4 separate regions of the Homo sapiens genome follow, and regions 1, 2 and 4 are each linked to region 3. Evidence: promoter capture Hi-C in 16 types of primary human blood cells and fetal thymus (Javierre and others, 2016). All regions are on one chromosome and are shown on one strand. The core of a region is centred on a gene start or on the middle of the fragment in contact, and the rest is flanking DNA. Distances in the headings are between cores, read along the strand shown. Region 1 overlaps OSTF1 (osteoclast stimulating factor 1). Region 2 overlaps NMRK1 (nicotinamide riboside kinase 1). Region 3 holds the start of TRPM6 (transient receptor potential cation channel subfamily M member 6). Region 4 overlaps CARNMT1 (carnosine N-methyltransferase 1).

Evidence for each region. The method cuts DNA at HindIII sites, captures the fragments that hold promoters and counts their contacts. A CHiCAGO score of 5 or more calls a contact.
Region 1: a fragment that was not itself captured here is called in contact with the fragment with the promoter of TRPM6 in region 3 in 1 of 17 cell types (neutrophils); the score reaches 5.0 in neutrophils.
Region 2: a contact is called between a fragment that was not itself captured here and the fragment with the promoter of TRPM6 in region 3, in 2 of 17 cell types (neutrophils and total B cells). The highest score is 6.4, in neutrophils.
Region 4: a fragment that was not itself captured here is called in contact with the fragment with the promoter of TRPM6 in region 3 in 1 of 17 cell types (neutrophils); the score reaches 6.1 in neutrophils.

Annotation. Positions count from the first base shown.
Region 1 is chr9:75,090,046-75,092,745 of GRCh38, reverse strand. The region is part of intron 1 of OSTF1 (osteoclast stimulating factor 1); the gene reads right to left. Among named protein-coding and RNA genes, the nearest start is that of OSTF1, 2.9 kb to the right of the region's middle. The HindIII fragment of the contact is 2,112 bases long and covers 195-2,306 here.
Region 2 is chr9:75,065,395-75,070,167 of GRCh38, reverse strand. It overlaps NMRK1 (nicotinamide riboside kinase 1), which reads left to right. Exons shown (of 9, transcript NM_017881.3): 5 at 126-273; 6 at 355-426; 7 at 1,066-1,172; 8 at 3,328-3,411. Among named protein-coding and RNA genes, the nearest start is that of NMRK1, 20 kb to the left of the region's middle. The HindIII fragment of the contact is 990 bases long and covers 756-1,745 here.
Region 3 is chr9:74,885,189-74,889,889 of GRCh38, reverse strand. It overlaps TRPM6 (transient receptor potential cation channel subfamily M member 6), which reads left to right and starts at 1,969. Exons shown (of 39, transcript NM_017662.5): 1 at 1,969-2,066. The coding sequence starts at 2,034. RefSeq lists an enhancer at 2,583-2,877. The HindIII fragment of the contact is 4,553 bases long and covers 177-4,701 here.
Region 4 is chr9:75,020,277-75,025,161 of GRCh38, reverse strand. All of the region lies in intron 1 of CARNMT1 (carnosine N-methyltransferase 1), which reads left to right. Among named protein-coding and RNA genes, the nearest start is that of CARNMT1, 5.6 kb to the left of the region's middle. RefSeq lists an enhancer at 1,031-1,080. The HindIII fragment of the contact is 5,061 bases long and covers 1-4,409 here.

The DNA.
Region 1 (2,700 bases), core at 1-2,500, 200 kb before region 3:
TAATTGTTTTTATTTTCTTTTTTGAAATGAAATGGATGTGAAGAAGAAAGAAACCTGAAAGAATATTCAACCAAATGTAAATAGTGATTATCAGTAGATGACAGGGATGATTCCTATATTTTAGTTATATATTTATTGTTTACCTTTTTCTAAATTTTCTAAAAATAAAAAAATTATATTTTTACTTACAAGCTTTTTTAAAAAAAACAAAATGAATGAGATCAGCCATCCACTTGTAAATATGGGATACTCTAGGTAATATCTGTAGATACATACGTCTTCCCCATTAGACTCAGGACCCTCGTGAATGACACCATAGATTATTGTTCCTGGGAACCCCAGTGTCTAGCACAGGGCCTAATATATGAGCTACATTTATTAAGAAACATTTGTTTAGCAAATGAATTCTGGATATGGCCAAAAACCCAAACAAGGTAACCCTGATCTATCCTCCAGATGGTACAAAAATGGCCAGGGTCTCCCACTAGCATCTGCCCGGGACTTCCCTGGGCAGCCTCCTTCCACAAATCGGCCCCCTGTTGGGGATGTGCTGATCAGCCAGAAAGATGCTATTAGCCTGCATTATAGCTTAATGTCCCTTGTTTTTAATATCTTCCAGCAAGTCCTTTGTCCTTACTCACCTAGCTCCTTTCCTTTTAGTATTGTCTACTGAATTGAGCCATGCTGTTTTGCCCAAATCTTGCTCTGAAAGAAGCTGTAAGAAACATGGCTAGGATGTTCTGTCTTGTATTTCTGCTAGAGATATCCAGGCCACTCCAATACTTTAAGAGAACCCACAGGAAAATCTGTCTCAGATCTCAATGCCATTAAAATAACTACTTTTCAGAGTAAGTGACACATTTTAATTTTATGAGCACTATGAATCTTGAGATTTTTCTCTCTGCTTGCAGCTGAGAGCCAAATCTACAGTGACCTTACTACACATGCAGGTCTGTCTGTAAGCTAGCTTTTCCTCTTGTTTCATCTTACTATTCTTCCCTTCCTCTAGATGACCATGCTTTATCTTTACTTTTTCCTCTCTCTCAGATCATGTGTATTTTTAGAAGTCCTTTTGGAATGAGGCAAGGTTTAAACAAACCAAAAAATTAAATACAACCCCAAAGCCCCCAATCCCATGCTGTCTTTGGAGATTTTTATCCATGCAGCTTGCCTGCAGGACAAGAAAGTAAAGCTCCACACCACTCTCCTTGCTGTCAACCAGGGGCTGACCTTTATGTGCATTTGTGACAAGAAAGTCTGTAGACCAGAGGCCCCTCCCTTTCGACTTCCTGACCACCAGCTCTAAAATACACATTTGACCGCCAGTGTGAATGGAGCACTATGACTTAAGGCAGAATAGCAAATGGTTAAGAGTGCAGACTTTGGCCAGGCACAGTGATCCCACACTTTGGGAAGCGAAGGAGGGTGGATCACAAGGTCAGGAGTTCAAGACCAGCCTGGATCCTGTCTCTACTAAAAATACAAAAAAAAAATTAGCCGGGCATGGTGGCGGGCTGCCTGTAATCCCAGCTGCTCGGGAGGCTGAGGCAGAGAATTGCTTGATCCCGAGAGGCGGAGGTTGCAGTGAGCCGAGATCGCGCCACTGCACTCCAGCCTGGGCAACAGAGCGAGAGTCTGTCTCAAAAAAAAAAAAAAAAAAAAAAGTGCAGACTTCAAAGCCAGACTACCTGGGTTTTAATACTGCCTGCTACATCCCCCACTCTAACTGTTGACTTTAGACAAGTTAAATAACATTTCTGCGCATCTTTATTTCCCCATCTGTGCAACAGGAACAATATAATGGTACTGATCTCATAAGATTGTTGAGAGCAGCAAATGTGTTAACACGTGTAAAGTGACTATACCATTGCCTAACACACAGTAAATGTGGGACAGTACTACGATAGGACATTTCTGTTTTTGTTTTTTGTACTCTGTTGAGACGGGGTCTTGCTATGTTGCCCAGGCTAGTCTCAAACTCCTAGCCTCAAGCAATCCTCCCACCTCAGCCTCATAAAGTGCTAGGATTACAGGCATGGCCCACTGCTCCTGGCCATCGCTTTTTTTTTTTCTTCAACTAAGCTAGCCCACACAAAGTTTCAACTCTGATTGGCAGTAATGTTTCTCACTGTAAATTACTAAACTGGCAAACCCATTTCTATGGTAACTTTGTGTCTGGATCTCATTTGTAAATTAATGTTGATTCAAAATTCCCTTTATCCTGAATCAAGGACCAGATAAAACAAATTAAAATAAAATAAAATGCAAAGTTCCCTCTAAACACCTGTCATGTTTAACCATAAGCTTTCTGATGTGAAGGAGAAAGGAGGTTCCTGGGAATGTATCCACAATTAGTAACAGGATGACCCTTAAACCCCCAAGTGTGAATGAACCCACATGTATACATTACTGTGTACACACACACACACACACACACACACACACACACACCTGTCAATGTCCCTCCATTTGCAATATAGACAGCATTTAATACGCATGAAGAGATTTTTAAAAAGGGCATTCTTTAACGTATTTCAACTGGCAGCAGGTGATCAGAAAAAAATAAGATAAATAAAATATTGTTTAGCTATCAAAGAACAACTCTGCACTGTTAGATACTTAAGGTCCTGATTTGCACCTGAGTTTAGAAAGCTACCTCATACATATGCACTTAAAATGGAAATTTCTCATCAGATTCCA
Region 2 (4,773 bases), core at 1-2,500, 180 kb before region 3:
AGTTTTGAAGGGAAATAAAATGGTGGTGTATATATTTACAGAATCCTGGATATACTCATCACAAAAAGTCACATCACAAAATTTTGTGCTATATTGATTGCATATTTTTGTGTGTTTGTTTGAAGTGCTTGAAGCACTTAACATGGAAAAAATGATGTCAGCCATTTCCTGCTGGATGGAAAGCGCAAGACACTCTGTGGTATCAACAGACCAGGAAAGTGCTGAGGAAATTCCCATTTTAATCATCGAAGGTTTTCTTCTTTTTAATTATAAGTAAGCATCTCCACCCTAATATTGTCTCTGAGTGAATGGGGGGATAAAAACCCTTGTGAACTAAGTATGCTGTTATTTTAGGCCCCTTGACACTATATGGAATAGAAGCTATTTCCTGACTATTCCATATGAAGAATGTAAAAGGAGGAGGAGGTAAGTTTTGAAGCCATCTTTGTGAGTTGTAATTCAAAACAAAAAATGTAGAAGAAAAATGAGGACAGCAACATTATTGAGCAATGCGTATACGTCATTTTTCAGAGACAGGAAGCCTTAACTCTTTTACAAAAGGAGCAAAACTCTTTTCCATAAATGGTCATCCGCATGGAGTAATGCAAATTACTTTCTAAGAAAAGGGCCTTATATCAAGCTTTCGGCTCATTTCTCCTAAATCCTCAAACAAAGCAAGCCCATGGTGATTAGGATTTTAATGTAAGTGAGCCTGTTCTGCCACAGCTACAAAGAACACCAATTAGTTCAAAGCTTAATCCAACATAGTGGTCTCTCCATTGTTATTTACACTATTTGTCTCTTAGTTCTCTTATAAAGCACTAGAAGGAAAAAGAATAATTAAGAATGATAGTCAGTGGATTACAAAGTTAATTTTAATATCAAAGAACTAAATCCATGTTACTGTCGTTCTAACTGCCATTGAGTTAAAACATGTAGTACATGTAGTCCTAATCCTGTTTAGATTCAGCCTCTGAGTGATTTCCCCATTATCCTGACCATTCATATTTTACTTTATCAATTGTGTGTTTCTGTCAACATAAAGTTTCCTACGTGTTTTGATAGTACAAGGGTCTATCAGCCTCCAGACTCTCCGGGATACTTTGATGGCCATGTGTGGCCCATGTATCTAAAGTACAGACAAGAAATGCAGGACATCACATGGGAAGTTGGTAAGTGCCTTTTCTCCTTCTGTTCAAGGCCTTTTACTTGTCATTTGCCTCAAAGTATAGAAAAGAAAGGACTCATAGAAAAGTATAAAGGGATGCTTAAGCAAGAACACTCTGGGCTTCTCCTTTTCCATAGCTGGTTCTCCTGGTTTCTGTTTCTCTCTGTGGCTCTTGTCAGCTTCTGGATGGTTATTCATTCAACCAGTATTGAATGAATGCCTTCCAGTGCTGCCCTGGAGATGGTGAGGGGAATGAGGCAGACCCAGCCCCTGCTCTTATGCAGGTAACATTCTATCATGGAAACAGGTGCTAGAGATACCAGCGGCCCAAGCCTGTCCTTTCCAGCTGCTGTAAGTTCTGCGACACCAAGTTCTAGGGGACTGCCGAGATCCCGGTAGTCAGGAAAGGCTTCCTTGAGGAAGTCACATTTAACCAAACTTCAATGAGTTTAACTGAACAAAGGAGATGGGTTGGGGAGATAGAAGATTACCCCAGAAAGTGGGTGTGGCACACGAAAGGGCCAGGGGACAGGAAGGAATGAGAAACCCCTGAAAGAAAGCTGGTGTTGAGAAAGCTTTCTAGTAAAGAAAACCAGGGGAGTGGATTGATGCTAGTGATACAGGCAGGGTCCAGACCCTATAAGGCCAATAATCTAGGTAAGGACTTTGATCATTGTTCTCAGAGAAGTAAGAAGCTCTCTAGAGAGAAGTTTTAAACAAGGGCATGATTGATAAAAATTCTTGTTTTAGTTAAGACCCCTCTGGCTGTGTGGAGAATGGAGGAGGATAGATTTATAGGGTGTGATGTTGGACGCCCGCACTCAGTAGAACTGGGTGATAGAACAGCTATGGAGGGGGCGGGAAGATGACAGATGCCTCAGCAACTGACAGATGTTAGAAAAAAGTGAAGGCATTGCAGACCTGTAAGGGAGGAATGCATGTCTCTTTTGCACATAATGAGGTTGAGGTGCCTGGGAGACATATGTAGCAATTTGGAGGTAAGCATCCGGATCTGTGGGCTTGAGCTAAGAACAGATCACTGGAATAGGGCACTCAATGCAGGGAAGATGGCAGAAGGCTGTTGGATAAGGCAAAGGAGTTAGAACTGATGTATGCTTTTCACAATAAAGGGGACTTGTCTGTGTTGTGAGAAGCCTGTTGGCCTCCAGGATAGGCAGCTATGTCAGAGCCATGTGGAATGCACACAGAGTGTACCCCCAGGGCCAATGCTGAGATTCTGGCTGCACCACGTCCAACTTGGACCATTGGTTGCAAGAACATCCTCTTGCTTCCCTTCTCTCCCTTTTACCTAAAATGCAAATCTAATCAGGCTCCTGCTCTGCTGAATACCTTGAGTCATCTCCAGATCTTTGAGATACAATCCAAACAGCCAGACATCAAGGCCTCTAACGACTGAGGTACTGAGGTACACCCTTGCTCTAAAATCTCATCTCACGCTGTTCCTGGAGCTTCCCCATATTCTAGCCATTCCAAAGGGTGCATCAGTGCTCTTGCCTCTCCCTACTCATGCTGTTTTCTGACCAGAAGGCCCTTTCCTTCCTTTAACCTAGACAACTTCTACTTTTTCTCCAAAGCTGCTTATGCCAGTTTTATTAAAAATACGTCTTTTCTCTGATAGCAGAAAACACACACACACACACACAAACATACACACACACACAATACATATTTTCTGAGCCTGGTGAATTCTGAGTTTGTACATATGTTGCAGATCCCAGACCACTGCATTGTTTAAGAAGCTTCCCAGGTGATCCTGATGTATAAGTATGTTGAAGAATTACTCCTTAAGTGACCCTTTTGGGTGAACACCTTCAGTGCACCTAAAGTGCCGTATGCACAACACCACTTTCTTTCTTCTGTTTCTTTCCTCCTTTCTTCTTTCTTTCTCTTCTCTTTTAATTAAATAATTTTCACATAAGCCAGTGTGGATTTATCTGTAACAATCCAATATTTTTGACCTATTATAGCTGGCTAGCATCTATTTCTTTCTTTAATCACTATTAATTTCCTTTTAAGTTATGGTCCTGGGTGCCTTGGTTAAACCTATTGGCATTTACAAGAGATGTTGGGTGTCAAAGTAAACATTGTATATTAATAAGCCTGTTAGCATTTGAACTGCTCTCTTTTCCCCTTCGTAGTGTACCTGGATGGAACAAAATCTGAAGAGGACCTCTTTTTGCAAGTATATGAAGATCTAATACAAGAACTAGCAAAGCAAAAGTGTAAGTATTGTGCTAACAAAGTGGATGGTAGAGGAGAAACAGCCAGGAAAATCATTCATTACATATGAAAGAATGGAATACCAGAATGCTAGTGTAGGAGTGATTGTGCTCATCCATTCTTTGCTTTGAGGATAATTCAGAATCAGAAATTCTGGGGGGGGGTTTGGAGACTCAATTATTTTGTCTGTTTTTAGGGGTAAAACCATGTACCCTTTGTTACATCTCTTAATGCTATTTATGTGATTTACTTTAAAACTTTTAGTAGATGGCTGTACCAAATGGGACTGGAAGTATCCTTTGGGCACAGTATAATTAAAATGCTGATGATTTTTTTTAGTATGTCCAGAGCTCCCCTTTTCTTTTATTCCCTTAAAGACTTTCTGTAAAATTTCTACTTTCCAAATACCTCAAAGATAAACAAAAGATTTTAAAAAGTATTATGAAGTGTTTGTTTAAGGTTTTCATATTGGACGGCACTGTTTGCAAGTGACAGGGATCTGCCTAAATATGGCTACAGCAGAAAGACAGTACAGGGGTAATGGTGGCTTCAGGCTCAGCTGGATTAACTCATTTATGCCTAGTGTTCCATTGTTGGAACTCTAAGCTTGTAGGAGTTATTTATATCCTACTGCTGAAGGTCATCACCAAGGTCTCGTTTTTCACAAAAATAATTTGCAACCTCCAACATTAATGGGTTAAGGAACTCAAATAAGGTCCTCAGGACTCTGCTTCTATTCTACTTTCTATTTAGGGTTTATTTTGAAGTCAGGCTCTCCACTGACCTGATGTCTGTTGACAACAACATCCTCCTAGGTCCATCAGTCCCAGGGTAAAAAGATATCTTTTTCAAGATTTGACAACGAGTTGATAAATGTTGGAGCTGGATATTGAGTACAAGGAGGTTCATATTTATTCTCACTTCTTTTGCATAAATTTGAAATTCTTTATTTTAAATAGTTTTCTAAAAAGCAATGTTCTGTTGTAGCCCAGATGATTGGTCCTGCTGGATCACATGACTTGCCAAACCAATCACTATGGCCAGGGAGATGGCATACTCTGATTGGCCAGGCCTACATCACATAACCCATCTTGTAATTGAATACCCCACCTAACACCTTCTGATTTTAAAAATTTCTCTGGCCAGTTGCAATGGCTCACGTTTATAATCCCAGCACTTTGGGAGGCTAAATTGGGAGGATTGCTTGGGGCCAGGAGTTCAAGACCAGCCTGAGCAACATAGTGAGAGGGACTCCATTTCTACAAAAATTAAAATTTTTTAAAAATTAGCTACCAAGCACAGTGGCTCACATCTGTAATCCCAGCACTTTGGGAGGCCGAGGCAGACAGATCATGATGGTCAGG
Region 3 (4,701 bases), core at 720-3,219:
CCTGATACAAGAGATCTGGGTAGGGTGGTTGGAGCCTGGGAATCTGCACTTTTGACAAATGCCTCAGATGTTTCTGATACAGCTTGGGAACCAAAGGCAGCTTGTAAACTAGTACATTCAATGCTTTAAGCACTTCACATTGCCCTTGTATTTCAGGCTCTAAATGCCTTGAAGCTTGATCTGAAAAGAATATATGATCATCCTAACATGTAGGTTTACCAAAGATGGTAAACTAGAAGATGGTAGACTTCTTACAAATCTTGAGTTCCAAATGGCTACTCTTCTTGGTGGGTCTGAAGATTTCTGAGAACTCTCTGACCCAGTCACTGTAAGAGACCTAACAAAGAAATTGTATGGAAGACAGAGATCGAGAAGGATTTACTTGCCTTAGAAGAGCTTTCAGAACCTGTTAACTGTTTACAGATTAACGCTTTAAAGAAGATGGGTTAAGGAGAGGAAAGGAGATTAAATGTGTTTATAGAAGAACAACAAATGCCTAGCACTTAGGGAGGCTGAAGTGGGTGGATTGCTTGAGTTCAGAAGTTCGAGACCAGCCTGGGCAACATGGTGAAACTCCGTATCTACAAAAATTACAAAAATTAGCCAGGTGTAGTGGCTTGCACATGTAGTCCTAGCTACTTGCGGGGGCTGAGGCTGGAGGATTGCTTGAGCCCAGGAGGTGGAGGTTGCAGTGAGCCGACATAGTGCCACTGCACTCCAGCCCGGTGACAGAGCGAGACCCTGGCTCAACAACAACAGCAACAACAACAAAAAGAAAAACAACAAAATGCCAATACACATATGAGAGATTACAATTTTCCAATAAACAAAGAAATGCTTATTAAAACCACATTGAGAAATGAGGGGAAAAAACCTGTAAACTGTCTGCAAATGTGAATTCACCAGGCAAAAATTCATAATAAACTAAATGAGTAGGTGTCCCTAATTTTAAGTCGGTTGTCAGGGATGAATGACTAGCATTGTTAATTACACTTGTAATAATGTGAGCATCATTTTGCCTGTGTGCTTTGTGCCACCTCTGCCAACACCCTGGGATCCACCCCAAATCACTGACCACAACCTTAATCAAGACTGCCTAGGCCGGGCATGGTGGCTCACGCCTGTAATCCTAGCACTCTGGAAGGCTGAGGCATGAAGATCGCTTGAGTCCAGAGTTTGAGACCAGCCTGGGCAACATAGTGAGACCCCATTTCTAAAATAAATAAATAAATAAATAAATAAATAAATAAATAAATAAATAAAATTAGCCAGGCACTGTGGTGTGTGCCTGTAGTCCCAACTACTCTCTGGAGCCTGAAGTGGAAGGATCACTTGAGCCTGGGAGGTCAAGGATGCAGTGAGCCATGATCCTGCCACTGCACTCCAGCCTGGGCAACAGAGCAAGACTCCATCTCTAAAAAAAGAAGAAAGAAAGAAAGAGAGAAAGAAAGAAAGAAAGAAAGAAAGAAAGAAAGAAAGAAAGAAAGAAAGAAAGAGAAGATGCCTATCCAGAGGAATCCACCAAAACAAAACAAAACAAACAAAAAAAATGAAAAAAAAACCAGAAATAACAAAACATTTGTATTGTATGTTACACATGAAGCACATTAAGTGATTTCCTTTGTTCATTGTAACCTTGTGAGGGAACTGGATTTTTGTCCCTATTATTCCCATTGCATAGATAAATAAACTGAGGCTTGACATGCCCAATAAGTCACAGGTAGTAAAAGCAGTGCGTTAGCTTAAATCTCTGATCTCCTCACGCCCCACACTGACTCAACAGTAACAATACATTACTACAAAGGATGTCTGTGATGACAGTGGCCATCCCATTTGATCCTCGTTATTCTTCTTTTATCGAAGGAAACTGAGAGTCACCTTCTTTTCTAGGCAGTTAGGTAACTGAAGCCGAAAGGTATTGTGACAGATCCACTGGGCTGTAAAAGGCAGCGTGTGGAGGTGGAGCCCAGAGTTTCTGCCTCCACAGTTAAAAGCTCAGACAGGGCTTTGGGAGCAGGGCCTGCAAATCAAAGATGAAAGAACAACCTGTCTTGGAGCGCTTGCAGGTAAGCTCAGGCTGCTCGACTGGCGGGGAACAAGGACCTTAGGCGATTCGCTAGATCTGCGCCCCCGGCCTTAGATAGAAGTGGGTGGGGCCAGGGACACTACATCTAACGAGGATCTAGAATAGCTAGGATTTATGAAATACCGGCTTTCAAGTTCTCTGGTCTCCACCCAAAGATGATTATCCTATCTAAGGTAGTGTACGCTACTACAGGGCAGGTCCCGCAGCCCCCGTTTCAAGAGCTGGGATGCGGCCATAGCGGAGGTGGTGTCAGAGCGGAAACCTAGCGGGGGTCGGGGGTTCAGCTCGGGGCGGTGGGAAACACCCCGGGAGAGGAGGCAGCTCTGATTCCGCTCCGGGCCGGAGGGAGAGGAGTTCGGAGGTGGCTTGAGCTGAGAATCCGGAGGAGAGAAGGCGCGTTTTGAGCTGCCACGGGCACAGATCTCAGACCCGGACGCTGACTAGCCGGGGGTCGCGGCTTTCCGAGGCGGCTGGAGAAGTGCCCAGACGGCCGTCCCTCCGCGCCCCTGCGCGTCCCCGTGCGCCCAGTGTTCCCCGTGCAGGAGTCCCGGAGCGATGACAGCGCCGGTTACGGTAAACACCCGCCCCGCCGCAGTCCGCTTCCTTCCCCAACGCGGCGCCGCCCGGACTTGCAACCTCAGGAGTCCCCGCTGGCTCCTCTCCACCGCTGGCATATGGCGCAACAGGAAGTTCTGGGGGCTTGGAGAGGGAGGGTGCTCCTGGCTGTTGGGAGAGCACTGGAGACGCTTGGGAGAGTAGTGGAGATCCTGGTAATTTCTTGGTCTCGCCTATTTTGTCTGGACTTTCTCACACTGTGTATGAAAAATAAGTATAATTGAGCACATTGTATTTCAGGAATAGTCCAGGCAGCTTAGCAAACGTTAGCTCATTTCAGCCTGCTCTGATAAGAACATATGCTCTGGAGCCAGGTAGCCTGAATTAGCATCCCAGCTGCATCACTACCTGTGATTTTGGGCGAGTTAACATCTGTTCTTCGGCTTTCTCATCTGGAAAATGGGATAATACGATTTGTAGTTTCAAGATGAATTGAAATGCTACATGCCATTTGCACTTAGAATAATGCCTGACGTATTTAGCAGGTTGTAAGAGTTTGGGATTCTTAACTATTTCATCCTGGCAGTAATCCTATAAAGTCCAAGTATCCTGTCTCTCCCATCTCCACCGGTTTACAGGTGAGGAAAATGAAACCAAAGGAGAAAAGCAGATTTGAGATTTGAACTCAGGTCAGTGCTTTAAGACACGGAGAACATAAAAAAGAAAAAAAAAAAAGAGAAAAAAAGACACTGAGAACATAGATGTTCTAGTCATACACATCATTTGTGATTATTTGTTCTAGGGAGAAATGATCACCTTTAATTGTTAAAGTGGGAAACGAGTTATTCAATTTCTTTCCCCCTGTATACAGATTTTGATGTTTCACTGTCATCTGCTTTGGGTTCTTACAGGACTGATAAAGCGTTAGCTATTTTGGCCAGACTGGAATCTGGGCTTGACTTTAAGAATCTGGTTGTTTCTTATGTTTCCCACCAGGAGTGGTAACCATCTAGGGTAGGAGTTAGCATGAGTTTTGTTTTTTGGGCCAAAACTGGAGACTAGTACCCTTTGGTAGTGTTAAACTTGTCTTGATAGACAAGGGCATGAATAGCATTTGAGATCATTATACCAGAGGTGAAGGGAAAGAATCGTGCAATATGTTGCAATTTGTCACAAATTTTGGTCTTATCTTGCCTATTTACAATTATCTATCATAGTTAATTTTTTGGATAGGACATCTATGCCAAAACTATCAAGCATTTGGTAAATACTGTGCCTGAAATATGGCTTCTCTCTTTTTCCTTCTTTTTCAAATTTCTCACTTTTTATTTTATTTTATTTTTTTGAGACAGAGTCTCGCTGTGTTGCCCAGACTGGTCTTGAACTCCTGGGCTCAAGCAATCCTCTTTGGCCTCCCAAAGTGCCAAGATTACAGGCCTGAGCCACTGTGCCTGGCCTCACTGTGTTTTAAATCATGAGTTTTCAGTATAAACAGCCCAAATAATCTGAGTGATTTTCATTATACTTCTGGTAGAATCAATACCATGCTGGAACTGAAAGTGACCATCCTACCTATAACTCAGTTATTCCTTTGTGACACATCAGAAGTCTACATGGCAACTATTTTCTGTAAAATCCATCACTGTTAGGTAAGATATTATGATGTGAGTCTCACTAGTGCCTTTTTTCTTTACTTCTTAGTTTTATTGAAGTTTTACGTTCTCATTGTTCAGAATCAATTAATTCCATAGGGTTAATATCTAAAAACAGTAGAACCCTCCATCACTTCCTGCTTTTTAAGAGAAGTAATCATGTTCATCTCTTTTAACTAGTTACTATTTGTCTGTATCTCTAGATATTCCTTATAATTGCTCCTTCTTGGTTTTTGAGGTTTAGTCATCATGCATTGACTTTCCTGCAAGAAATGTGTGGATTTAACTCTTTTCTGTTTTCCTGCCACTACCACTTACATGCATCCTACCTATTCCTTCCATAGATCCTCTGAATATAGTTATCTCATAATTTTTGGTTAGGTCAATATTTAGTTAGGTCAACATTAT
Region 4 (4,885 bases), core at 630-3,129, 140 kb before region 3:
AGACATTACAAGAAAAAGTTGATTTGTTTGATATGTACTGTAGATAGAGGTCTGCAGTTGGAGGTTGCCCCCCAACCCCATTTCAGACAGAGGATTCATCTTGTAATCAAATTATGTAAACTTATAGTATTGATAAATGCAGTGCAGTAGTGTAAATGTATTTTCCCTTTCCTACGACTTTCTTAATATTTTCTTAGCTTTATTGTAAGAATATAGTACGTAATATATTAACATACAACATATCTGTCAGTTGTTTATGTTATTGGTACGGCTTTCGGTCAGTAGTAGGCTATTAGTAGTTAAGTTTTTGGTGAATCAAAGTTAGGTGTGGGTTTTCGACTGCACAGGGGGTTGGTGCCCCAACCCAAGTATTGTTCAAGGGTCAGCTGTACGTCCAGATTTTGCAGGGTTCAATTTTACTGCAAAATGTCTTTTAGTTAATACGTAGGAGATTTAGATAAAAGGTCATAAAGCAAGGAATGTCTTTTGATTAATATTTTCTCTTTCTAATGGGTTTCAATTTTGTGATTCCCACAGATTTTGCTTAGATGACATTCTCATTAAGGTAAAAATGGATATAGCTCATTTGTATTGAATAGCAAAAATGTTAGTTTTATAACCCAGTCTTGTTACGAATGAAGCACCTCAGCACATAGAAAACACTAGAGTTGAAAAGCTGAAAGTCTTTTCAGAAACTTCTTACTTTTAGAAATAACGGGGTGAGATTTTTTAATATTGAGATTTAGAACTGATTTTTACAGGTGAGGATGTGGATAGACACAAAGCGGTAAGCAACTTGCTCAGGGTTACACAATCCAGTTGTGGTAGAATCTGACCTAAAATCCAAAATCGTTACCTAAAATTTTACTGTGCATTAATGAGGAGTTATACTAGTAACACAAATTTAATGTTAGGTATTTAATAAAGATTTAAAATGAATCAAGACAGGCCAGGCTTTGTTTCTGACAAGTTATGTTTTTTCTATTTGGATTTCCTAGAGTAGTTCAACTAGGTGCAGAGGAATGGGCCTGTGACCATGGCCTTTAGATCAGACCTGGTGTGGGCTCACCCTGATGACAGGTGACTAAATCAGAGTTGAGGTCACTGCTGACACCAGGTTTCTAGAGAGAGTTAGAGGTAGAGATACCACCATTGGGGAAAAATGGCTACTAAGTTTACTTTCTCCTCTTATCAGCAAGAGGATGTCACCTCCTGATGCTGACTTAGTTCAGAACCAAGGAGAGTCTGATTTTTGTAAAATACTCCTTCAAAGCAGGTTTGGCAGAGTTTCTTAAAAGGGCCAGGCAGTAAATATTTTAAGCTCTGAAGGCCAAGTGGTCTCTTGTTACAACTCATCAACTCTGCCCTTGAATGGAAGGAGCCTTAGGCTTTGTGTAATCAAATAGTGTGGCTTTGTACCAATAAGACTGTACAAAAACCAGGTAGCCAATGGGCCCCTGCCTTAAAGCAATTCTGATAGCGTAAGCATGTGCAGGATAGTGAAGTTAGCCCCAGTTATAAGGGTATAATAAGGATTGGACTATATTCTCAACTTTAGTAAGATCCCACCTATTTTAAGAGTCACTGGTGGATGTATGTTATGGCAGCTTTGCACACCATTAAGTAACCAGGGGTTTAAGGATCTCATCCTGCTCTGTGTAGTTACTTCTGTATCAAAAATTGACAGCTCTTGTAACCAATCTATAACTTATCTCAACTCACCCTTGCAACCTTGATATTACTTGGTGATAAGTAGTCTCCATGGAAAACCAAAAGTGGCACCCGTGGGAATATAACTGAACATTTATTGCTTTTTACATATGCTGAAATACGGAGATATTGAATAATGACCAAGATGACACTTGTGTTTTAGAATAATTCTTCTGATTAGAGGTGGGGCAGGAAGGGCAGGGGAGGAGTTAGGAAGTAGAATTGAAAAGTATCCTGGGTTTATTGATTGTGGGACTAGGAGAAGAGGCATTTAGGATGACTCCTTAATTTCTTTTTCTTTTTTTTTTTTTTTTTTGAGTCTTGCTCTGTCACCCAGGCTGGAGTGCAGTGGCACAATCTCAACTCACTGCAACCTCTGCCTCCCAGGTTCAAGCGATTCTCCTGCCTCAGCCTCCCAAGTAGCTGGGATTACAGGCGCATGCCACCATGCCTGGCTAATTTTTTGTATTTTTAGTAGAGACAGGGTTTCACTGTGTTAGCCAGGATGTTCTTGATCTCGAACTCCTGACCTGAAGTGATCTGCCCACCTCAGCCTCTCAAAGTGCTGGGATTACAGGCGTGAGCCACCATGCCCGGCTGATGACTCCTTTAATTTCTAACTTGGGTGCATTTGTTAATCTTAGCCATGAAGGAAGGAGGGCAGGTTTTTGTGGGGCATGTGCTAAGTTCACTTTGGATATGAGTTTTGAGTATGGTGAGAGGGAAGTTGTGGGGCATCCAGAGCCCGGGAGTAAACACTAGGAAGAAAGCTCTGTGAGGCTGTTCAACTGTTGAAGCTCTGCTGTTTGCCTAACTTGATGTGGCCATTTTAGTTCCTTTAATGTCATACTCTGCTGTTAGGAATGTAAATTTATGGAGTCTTTTTGCACATCATTTTATATCAAGAGCCTTAAAAATACTAACTCCTGGCCAGGTGTAGGGGCTCACGCCTATAATCCCAATATTTTTGGAGACCAAGGTTGGCAGATCACTTCAGGTCAGGAGTTCAAGATCAGCCTGACCAACATGGTGAAACCCCATCTCTACTAAAAATATAAAAATTAGCCGGGCATGGTGGTGTGCACCTGTAGTCCCAGCTACTTGGGAGACTGAACCAGAAGAAGCGCTTGAAGCTGGGAGGCAGAGCTGGCAGTGAGCTGAGATCATGCCACTGTACTCCAGCCTAGGTGACAGAGTGAGACTCCATCTCCAAAAAAAAAAAAAAAAAAAAAAAAAAAGTATTCCTTCTCACCTGGTAATTCTGGTTTTGAGAGTTTATGCTAATTTTTTTCCTAAATTATAGACAGATTTTGAACACAAAATGTTCATCACAAAAACAAGTGAGTGTCTAAATGCCCAGTAGTTGGGAAATAGCTAAGTCACTGATGGTTACCTAAGATGGAATGATGAACATCCACTTTGTACCCCACAAATATAGACAATTATAATTTGTCAGTATTCAGCTTAAAAAAAGTAAGATGCTAGATGACTTTTTTTTTTCTTCTCTTTTTTGGAGACAGGGTTTTTGCTCTGTTACGCAGCCTGTAGTGCAGTGACACAATCATAGCTCGCTGCCCCCTTGACTTTCTGGGCTAAAGCAATTCTCCTACCTCAGCCTCCCAAGTAGGTGAGACTACAGGCATGCACCACCACGCCTGGCTCATTTTGTTTTTTTATTTTTTTGTAGAGAGGATGGTCTTGCTATATTGCCCAGGCCGGTTTTGAACACCTGGCCTCAAACAGGCTTCCCACCTTGGCCTCCCAAAATACTGGGATTACTGGCATGAGCCACTGCAACTTTGTGTTAAGCAAAACGGAAATGTGCCAAAAGGTTAGAAGTGGTTCCCTCTAGAAGAGGAATTATTAGGCCTTCTTTCCTGAGTACTTCTAATTTCTACATTGTTCATGCTTTGAACATTTTAGTAATATAAATGAGATATACCTACTCCTTTTTTGAACAGTAGATATATATATATAGTATATATATTTATCCTATATATACTATTTATATTATATATACTATTTATACTATATATAGTATGTATATAGTATATATACTGTATATAGTAGATATATACTATGTATATAATATATATGGTATGTATAGTAGTATATATACTATATATAATATATATGGTATGTATATAGTAGTATATATACTATGTATATACTATGTATATATACATATATACTATGTATATACTATGTATATATACTCTATATAGTATATTGAACAGTAGGTATATATATAGTATATATATTTTGAGCGCTTGCTGTGTTTTCAGCTGTTGGGCTAAATCTTTTGAGTACGTTATTTTTCCAATGAAACCCTGTCTGCTAGGCAGAGGAAGGTAATGCTACCTACCTAATTATGAAGATCTTTCAGAATAATCCGTATTAACTGACTTGGTTTAGTCCCTGGTATTTATTAAATCTCAAATGGCAGCTTCCATGATCATCATCATTGTTCATTCTTATCTTGCTTCTGTATATGAGAGAGTTGGACAAAGGAAGGCGGTAATTTGCCTGGTGTCATGTGGCAAATAGGTGTCATAACCTGGATTTCATCCCTGATCTTTCTGACTTCAAAGCTCATTATTATACTCTCCCCAGAGGGGCATGTCAGTGGAGCTTCTGACAACTTGATCTCTTCACCTTATCCCTAAGGGCCCCCCACACCAAGCCACCAAACACAAGCTTGTAAAAACGCGACCAGCCAGGTTTTTGGTTGTTTGTCAGGAGCTTCTTCTGAAGTTCATTACTGTTTGGCAGTTGGAATAATTTGGCAGAGGGTAAAAATAAGAAAATTGTTTGGATGAATGAAGATTTAAGAAACCAAATGACAAAGATATTGAAAATGAAAGTGAAATTGAAAATGAAAATGAAGGCTGGGTGCGGTGGCTCACGCCTATAATCCCAGCACTTTGGAAGGCGGAGGCAGGCAGATCACGAGGTCAAGAGATCGAGACCATCCTGGACAGTATGGTGAAACCCCGTCTCTACTAAAAATACAAAAATCAGCTGGGCATGGTGGCGCGCACCTGTAGTCCCAGCTACTCGGGAGGCTGAGGCAGGAGAGTCGCTTGAACCTGGGAGGGGGAGGTTGCAGTGAGCTGAGATCGTGCTACTGCATTCCAGCCTGGGCAACAGAGCAAGACTCCATCTCAAAAAAAAA